2 separate regions of the Homo sapiens genome follow, and region 1 is linked to region 2. Evidence: promoter capture Hi-C in 16 types of primary human blood cells and fetal thymus (Javierre and others, 2016). All regions are on one chromosome and are shown on one strand. The core of a region is centred on a gene start or on the middle of the fragment in contact, and the rest is flanking DNA. Distances in the headings are between cores, read along the strand shown. Region 1 has its middle 8.4 kb from the start of USPL1. Region 2 holds the start of ALOX5AP (arachidonate 5-lipoxygenase activating protein).

Region 1 (2,814 bases), core at 71-2,570, 130 kb before region 2:
GTGGTTTCTGCCTCTCTCTCAGATCACGTGCTCTGGGGGAAAAGCCAGGTGTCATTTTGTGAAGACACTCAAGCAGCCTTTAGATGACTGCAACCACATAAGAGGCTCCGAACTGGAGCCACTCAGCTAAACCACTCCCAGATTCCTGACCATGTATCATTTCATACACAATGTATGAAATGACAAATGTCTGTTGTTTTAAGCTGTTTGGGGAATAATTTGTTACATAACAAAATATAACTAATACAATAATACATACTGATTTAACTGAAGTTGTAACTTCATAACTTATTTAGGTACTAAAAATCACAGCAACCCGATGCAAAGTACTAAAAAAAAAATCCATTAATACCTATTGAGTACTGTTGAGGGCATGAGGAAAGCTCTTTCATACTCCACATAAAACTTCCTTACCGTAATATTCATGGCTGACCTCTACTCTTAACTCCTTTCTAGGATAGGAGGGGCTAACTGATCTGACAGCAAGTTTGGGAGAAAAAATTCTGAGGCTCGGCCAACTTCCTCTCTTCTTTCCATTTGGGATTTGGCTGACTGAAGAGGGTCATTTGTTTTGGCCTGCTCTCTTACACAGTAAATGTAGTGGGACAAGCTCTATTCTTGTTGATAGAAAAACTCGAATTTTAAATCTGCCTAGTTCTTTGCAGCTCGTTGTTGCTCCAAATCTCAGCTACCTTTTGAAACAACTTTTTTCAGTAAACTTAATTTCAATCTTCATGTGATTTAACTGGATCCAAACACAGGCAGATAAAAAAGGTGGGGCATTACTTATCAACCTCTAAACTAAGTTTAATTTTGTGCCCTCATGGAGTTTATAGTATATTTGAGGTTTAAACTAAAACACCTGGTTTTAAACAGAAACTATAAAAAACACGATTAATAGGTGAGGCCGGGCGCGGCGGCTCACGCCTGTAATCCCAGCACTTGGGGAGGCCAAGGCGGGTGGATCACGAGGTCAGGAGATCAAGACCATCCTGGCTAACACGGTGTGAAACCCCGTCTCTACTAAAAATACAAAAAATTAGCCCGGCGTAGTGGTGGGAGCCTGTAGTCCCAGCTACTCAGGACGCTGAGGCAGGAGAATGGCGTGAACCCGGAAGGCGGAGCTTGCAGTGAGCCATTGCGCCACTGCACTCCAGCCTGGGTGACAGAGCCAGACTCCGTCTCAAAAAAACAAACAAACAAAAAACAAATAGGTGAAAGGCCGTGATCATTGGTAAGCGTAAGAAAATCTGAGGGAGAAAAAAATATAGATGCCCAGGCCCCATGCCAAACTCATGGAATCATGCATGAAACCCAAGCAGCTGCAGTTTTAACAAGTTCCCAATATATAGTTGACCCCTGAACAATGCAGGTTTGAACTGCCTGGGTCCACTTATAAAATGGATTTGATTTTTTTCAATAAAAGTTACACCGAGTGTGCCTGCCTCTCCTCCCTCCCTCCCTACATGCTCCTGCTCTTAAGCCTCTGCCATGAGGCTTAAGACAGCAAGAACAACCCGTCCTGTTTATTTCAATAGTTTTGGGGGGTGCAGGTGGTTTTTGGTTACATGGATAAGTTCTTTAGTGGTGATTTCTGAGATTTTAGTGCAACTGTCACCTGAGCAGTGTACACTGTATCCAACATGTAGTCTTTTAACCCCCATCCAACCTTCTTCCCCAACCCGAATCCCCAAAGTCCACTGTATGATTCTTATGCCTCTGTGTTTTTATAGCTTAGCTCCCACTTTTAAGTGAGAACATACCATTTTTGGTTTCCCATTCCTGAGCTACTTCACTTAGAATACTGGCCTCCAGCTCCATCCAAATTGCTGCAAAAGATATTATTTCGTTCCTTTGTATGGATGAATAGTATTCCACGATGTACATAAACATTTTCTTTATCCACTCAGCTCCTCTTCAGTCTACTCAATGTGAAGGTGACAAGGACGAAGATCTTTATGATGATCCATTTCCACTTAATGATTAGTAAATATACTTACTTTTCCTTATGATTTTCTTAGTAACTTTTTTTCTCTAACTTACTTTATTGTAAGAATACAGTATATAACACATATGACATACAAAATACGTTAGTCAACAATATATGCTATCAGTAAACTTCCAGTCATCAGTGGGCTATTAGCAGCTACGTTTTTTGGGCAGTCAAAAGCATGGGGAAGGAGAGGGTGGTCCCTAACCCCTGTGTTGCTCAAGGGTCAATTGTAATAATACCCATTTAAGAATCCATGGTATATATGGTAAGTGCAACAACTCTAGAAGAGAGTGCTAGGAGTTGGAAAAGGAAAGAGAAAACAGAATTTAAAGCAATCTGTAAAGGACATGCAGGGTTTAGATGAGGTGGAAGGGTGAGGGAAAACCAACATCTGCTGTGAGGGCATATTAACTGCCAGACATTGTTCTATGTCTTACCTCATTTAAGAGAATTTCATTTCACACATGGAAAAACTGAAGCCCAGAGAGGTTAAATAATTTGCCTGAGGCCAAAATTAGTTAAATAACAGAAGTGGGATTAGTAGATGTTTTCATTTTATCAGTGAAACTGAGCCTCAGGGAGGTTAAATATTTTGTATGAAGTAACAAAACTGAGATTAATATATGGCCAAGTTTAAATGAGATCTGTAAATCTAATGCCTACACTAAAACAAAAAAAAAAAAGTGGGAAGAAAAGGTCTATATTGCTTAGCAAAACAGAGGTAGGGAAGCAAAAATAAACTTACAAAATCAGATTAGACCACCAAAAAACAGTCCCCATTTTAACTTATGTGGTGAGAACCATATATTAAAGACCACCAG
Region 2 (3,170 bases), core at 299-2,798:
CCACCAGCAGCTTTTCTGAGTCTCCAGCTTGCAGATGGCAAACCATGAAACTTCATGGTGTCCATGAGCATGTGAACCAATTTCTATTATAAATCTGCAATATATATATATGAGGAGACTTATTTATATATTGGTTCAGTTTCTCTGGAGAGCCTTGGCTAATATAAAGTCTATACTCTACAAAGTGCCCTAGGTACTCAGGGAGTACCCAAGTGTGTCATGACCAGCCCGACAGCCCTGGCTGCTGGCTTCCCCGCACACAACTCTGCACGCTGCCTTCATCAGCCTTTCTCTCTCAGCTGAACCGAGGGCATTGAAGCGGGCCTCTGGCACTGTACCTATGAGGGAGCAATATCTTCCCCTACACTGACCTCTTCCGTGCCGAGATGCAGCCCTCCCTGCTGCCACTAGTTACAGTGGTCCATGTTCCCTTTCAAAGTGAAGTTTTGATAAAAGCACCTCTTAACCAATGCCAAATAGCTAAGTCTGGGACAAAGATTGCAGGTATTTTGCATTTTCCATGTAACCTCAGAGGGATTGCCATTCACACTGATCTGAGCTGCAGAATACCAGGCAGCCACCTCACCCACCCAGCAGGTCCACTCTTATACTTTCTCAGAAAGCACAGCCACTCTACTCTTATTCAGTTGAAAAGAATTTCCAGGAAGGTGTTTCTGCGATTGCCTCAGAAAAGTCAGTTCCCTTTGGGAATTTCCCTTAGGGATCATCTGTAACTCCATTTCTGCCTTTTACCTGAATTCTTTGGTTTGGTTTGAATTCTTTGGTTTAATTTATGAATTCCCTTTATTACTTTTCTCTGAAGAAATGGAGATATCAGCTGTCCCTCCCCACTGCCATTTATTCCTTCCTTCATTCAAACCTTATGTGGCTGCTACTTACCGTGTGTTAAGTGTTCACTTTTTTTCTTGGAATTCAAAAAAAGAAGGACAGTATTTGGGGCACAGATCTTTTGGTGTTCTATACATTTTTTTAAAGTTTCATTTTACATTTGTGTGTGCGTGTGTGTGTGTGTGTGAGACAGTCTTGCTCTGTTGCCCAGGCTGGAGTGCAGTGGCATAATCATTGGCTCACTGTAGCCTCAAAGTCCTGGGCCCAAGCAATCTTCCCACCTCAGCCACCCAAAATGCTGGGGTTACAGGTTTATGCCACTCTGTCTGACCTGAAAGTTTTGGGTTTACTTTCCCTTCTTTCTCTTTGCTGAAGTCAGAGATGATGGCAGCTTCCAGATTCTCTGGTGCCTGTGCTGGGCTCGTGCTGGTCATGGTCTTGGGTCCAGGATTCATTCTGGAGACTCTCAGGGAAGTTTCCCATGACAAGGAAATGTAGGAGAGTGTGCTGGCTTTGCGTGCTCCTCTGCCAAGCCCTGCTTCTCCTGGTGGGACACACTGAACCACAGCCAGGGCATTTTGGTGGTTAGTTAAAAAAAAAAAAAAAAAAAAAAAAAGGAAGAAGAAGGCACTGTGTAATTGTGCCGGGGATCTTCAGAAATTGTAATGATGAAAGAGTGCAAGCTCTCACTTCCCCTTCCTGTACAGGGCAGGTTGTGCAGCTGGAGGCAGAGCAGTCCTCTCTGGGGAGCCTGAAGCAAACATGGATCAAGAAACTGTAGGCAATGTTGTCCTGTTGGCCATCGTCACCCTCATCAGCGTGGTCCAGAATGGTAAGGAAAGCCCTTCACTCAGGGAAGAACAGAAGGGGAGATTTTCTTTGATGGTTGTTTGGAAGTCAGGCTTAAACAATTGTGTCTGTGTGTGCGCATGCACAAACACTTTTACCTTATCTTTATTTTCTTCTTTTTATTTGAATGTATAGGGTTGTGTGTATTTCTGTGTAAATTTGGGGTTTTCCTCCTCTTAGTCTTTCACTTTTGTGGTGATTACCAGTCCCATTTTTAGAGCCAGGGCTGCAACTTGAAGGTTTTGCTAAAACCCTCACCGAAGTGTCTATGATCAGCATTTTAACTATTAATTAATGTGGCCAGGCAAGGGGTGGAAGGTGAGAAGACTAGAAAGGGAACATGATATACACATTTACTCAGATACTGGGCTTTTCTAACATCTGCAGTGCAATTGAAGTTACCAGTCATCTGCAGTCTAAAAAGAAAGTGATTTTGGGAGGTGCGTAGAAAAAATCATCTTATTATTTTTCCTCTATATTACTTTTTTCTTTTTTTCTCCTGAAGAAACTTTTTTTTTTGGTGATACCTTCTTTTTCTCTAGCACGTATAATTTTGGAAGCATTTTTCATATGCAGTGTATACTTCAGAAAGAGAGAGAGAGAGAGGAAAATTGTCCTGTTCAGCGTTTGCATTTCCATTATTCCTGCTATTAGTTAAAAACAACAACAACAACAAAAAACAAGCAGGATACCTAGATCTGGAAAAGGGAGAATTGTGTAGAGCTGTCTTCCTAAAGTTCTGAGTTAGGGCTGCCTCAGACCACTTTCATAACTATCTCCAGTGGCTTTGTGTTTTATATTTATTAAGATAGAGAAAAAAAGAGTAATTACTAAGGGCAGCTGCTGTAGCTTTATGGTGATTACTGAACATTGACATGCTGTCACGTTTTTGGAACTTTGAGTATTTAATCACTTTGGGATATTCTATTTTCCCCCATCTTGAGTGTGGACAGATGCTGGTGATGTAGCCTTCTGGGCACAGAGCAAGCCTCCCCCTCAGCCTCTGCACCAGAAAGGCTCAGCTTCACACACTCCAAGTATGTTTTCTACAAGAACTACACTTTGTGGCTTTCTGACCCAAACATTTTTATACTAAATTACACACAACAAAGTTGTAGCTCAGAGAGGGAACAAATGGCTTATTTAGGCCACCATTTTCTTGAGCCATTATGATTTCACACAGGGCTCCCTTGGCCCTGTAAATTGGCAAGGATTCCATTATTCAACCCGCATACATGTACAGAGACCCTGCTCTGGCCCAGATAGTATTCTGGGTACAGGCGGATAGAGCAGGAAACAAAACAGCTACAGTGATGGACAGGTCAGCCTGCAGCAATGCCTGCAGTCTCTGCAAAGGTAGCTGTATGGGTGGGCAGGTGGCTAGCACTTATTCAGCTCTGGAAGGATCTCCCCTCTGGCCTCTCCCCTGACACCCATCAATAAAACTGAGGAGCATCGGTGGACAGGGGACC

The links. Contacts are between HindIII fragments. The CHiCAGO score rates a contact against its expected background, and 5 or more counts as called.
Region 1: a contact is called between a fragment that was not itself captured here and the fragment with the promoter of ALOX5AP in region 2, in 1 of 17 cell types (neutrophils). The highest score is 5.1, in neutrophils.

What each region holds. Positions count from the first base shown.
Region 1 is chr13:30,608,075-30,610,888 of GRCh38, forward strand. It overlaps a transcript of HMGB1 not described here. Among named protein-coding and RNA genes, the nearest start is that of USPL1, 8.4 kb to the right of the region's middle. The HindIII fragment of the contact is 4,747 bases long and covers 1-2,814 here.
Region 2 is chr13:30,733,995-30,737,164 of GRCh38, forward strand. ALOX5AP (arachidonate 5-lipoxygenase activating protein) reads left to right here and starts at 1,549. Exons shown (of 5, transcript NM_001629.4): 1 at 1,549-1,681. The coding sequence starts at 1,612. The region is part of intron 2 of LOC124903146 (a long non-coding RNA gene); the gene reads right to left. The HindIII fragment of the contact is 8,013 bases long and covers 1-3,170 here.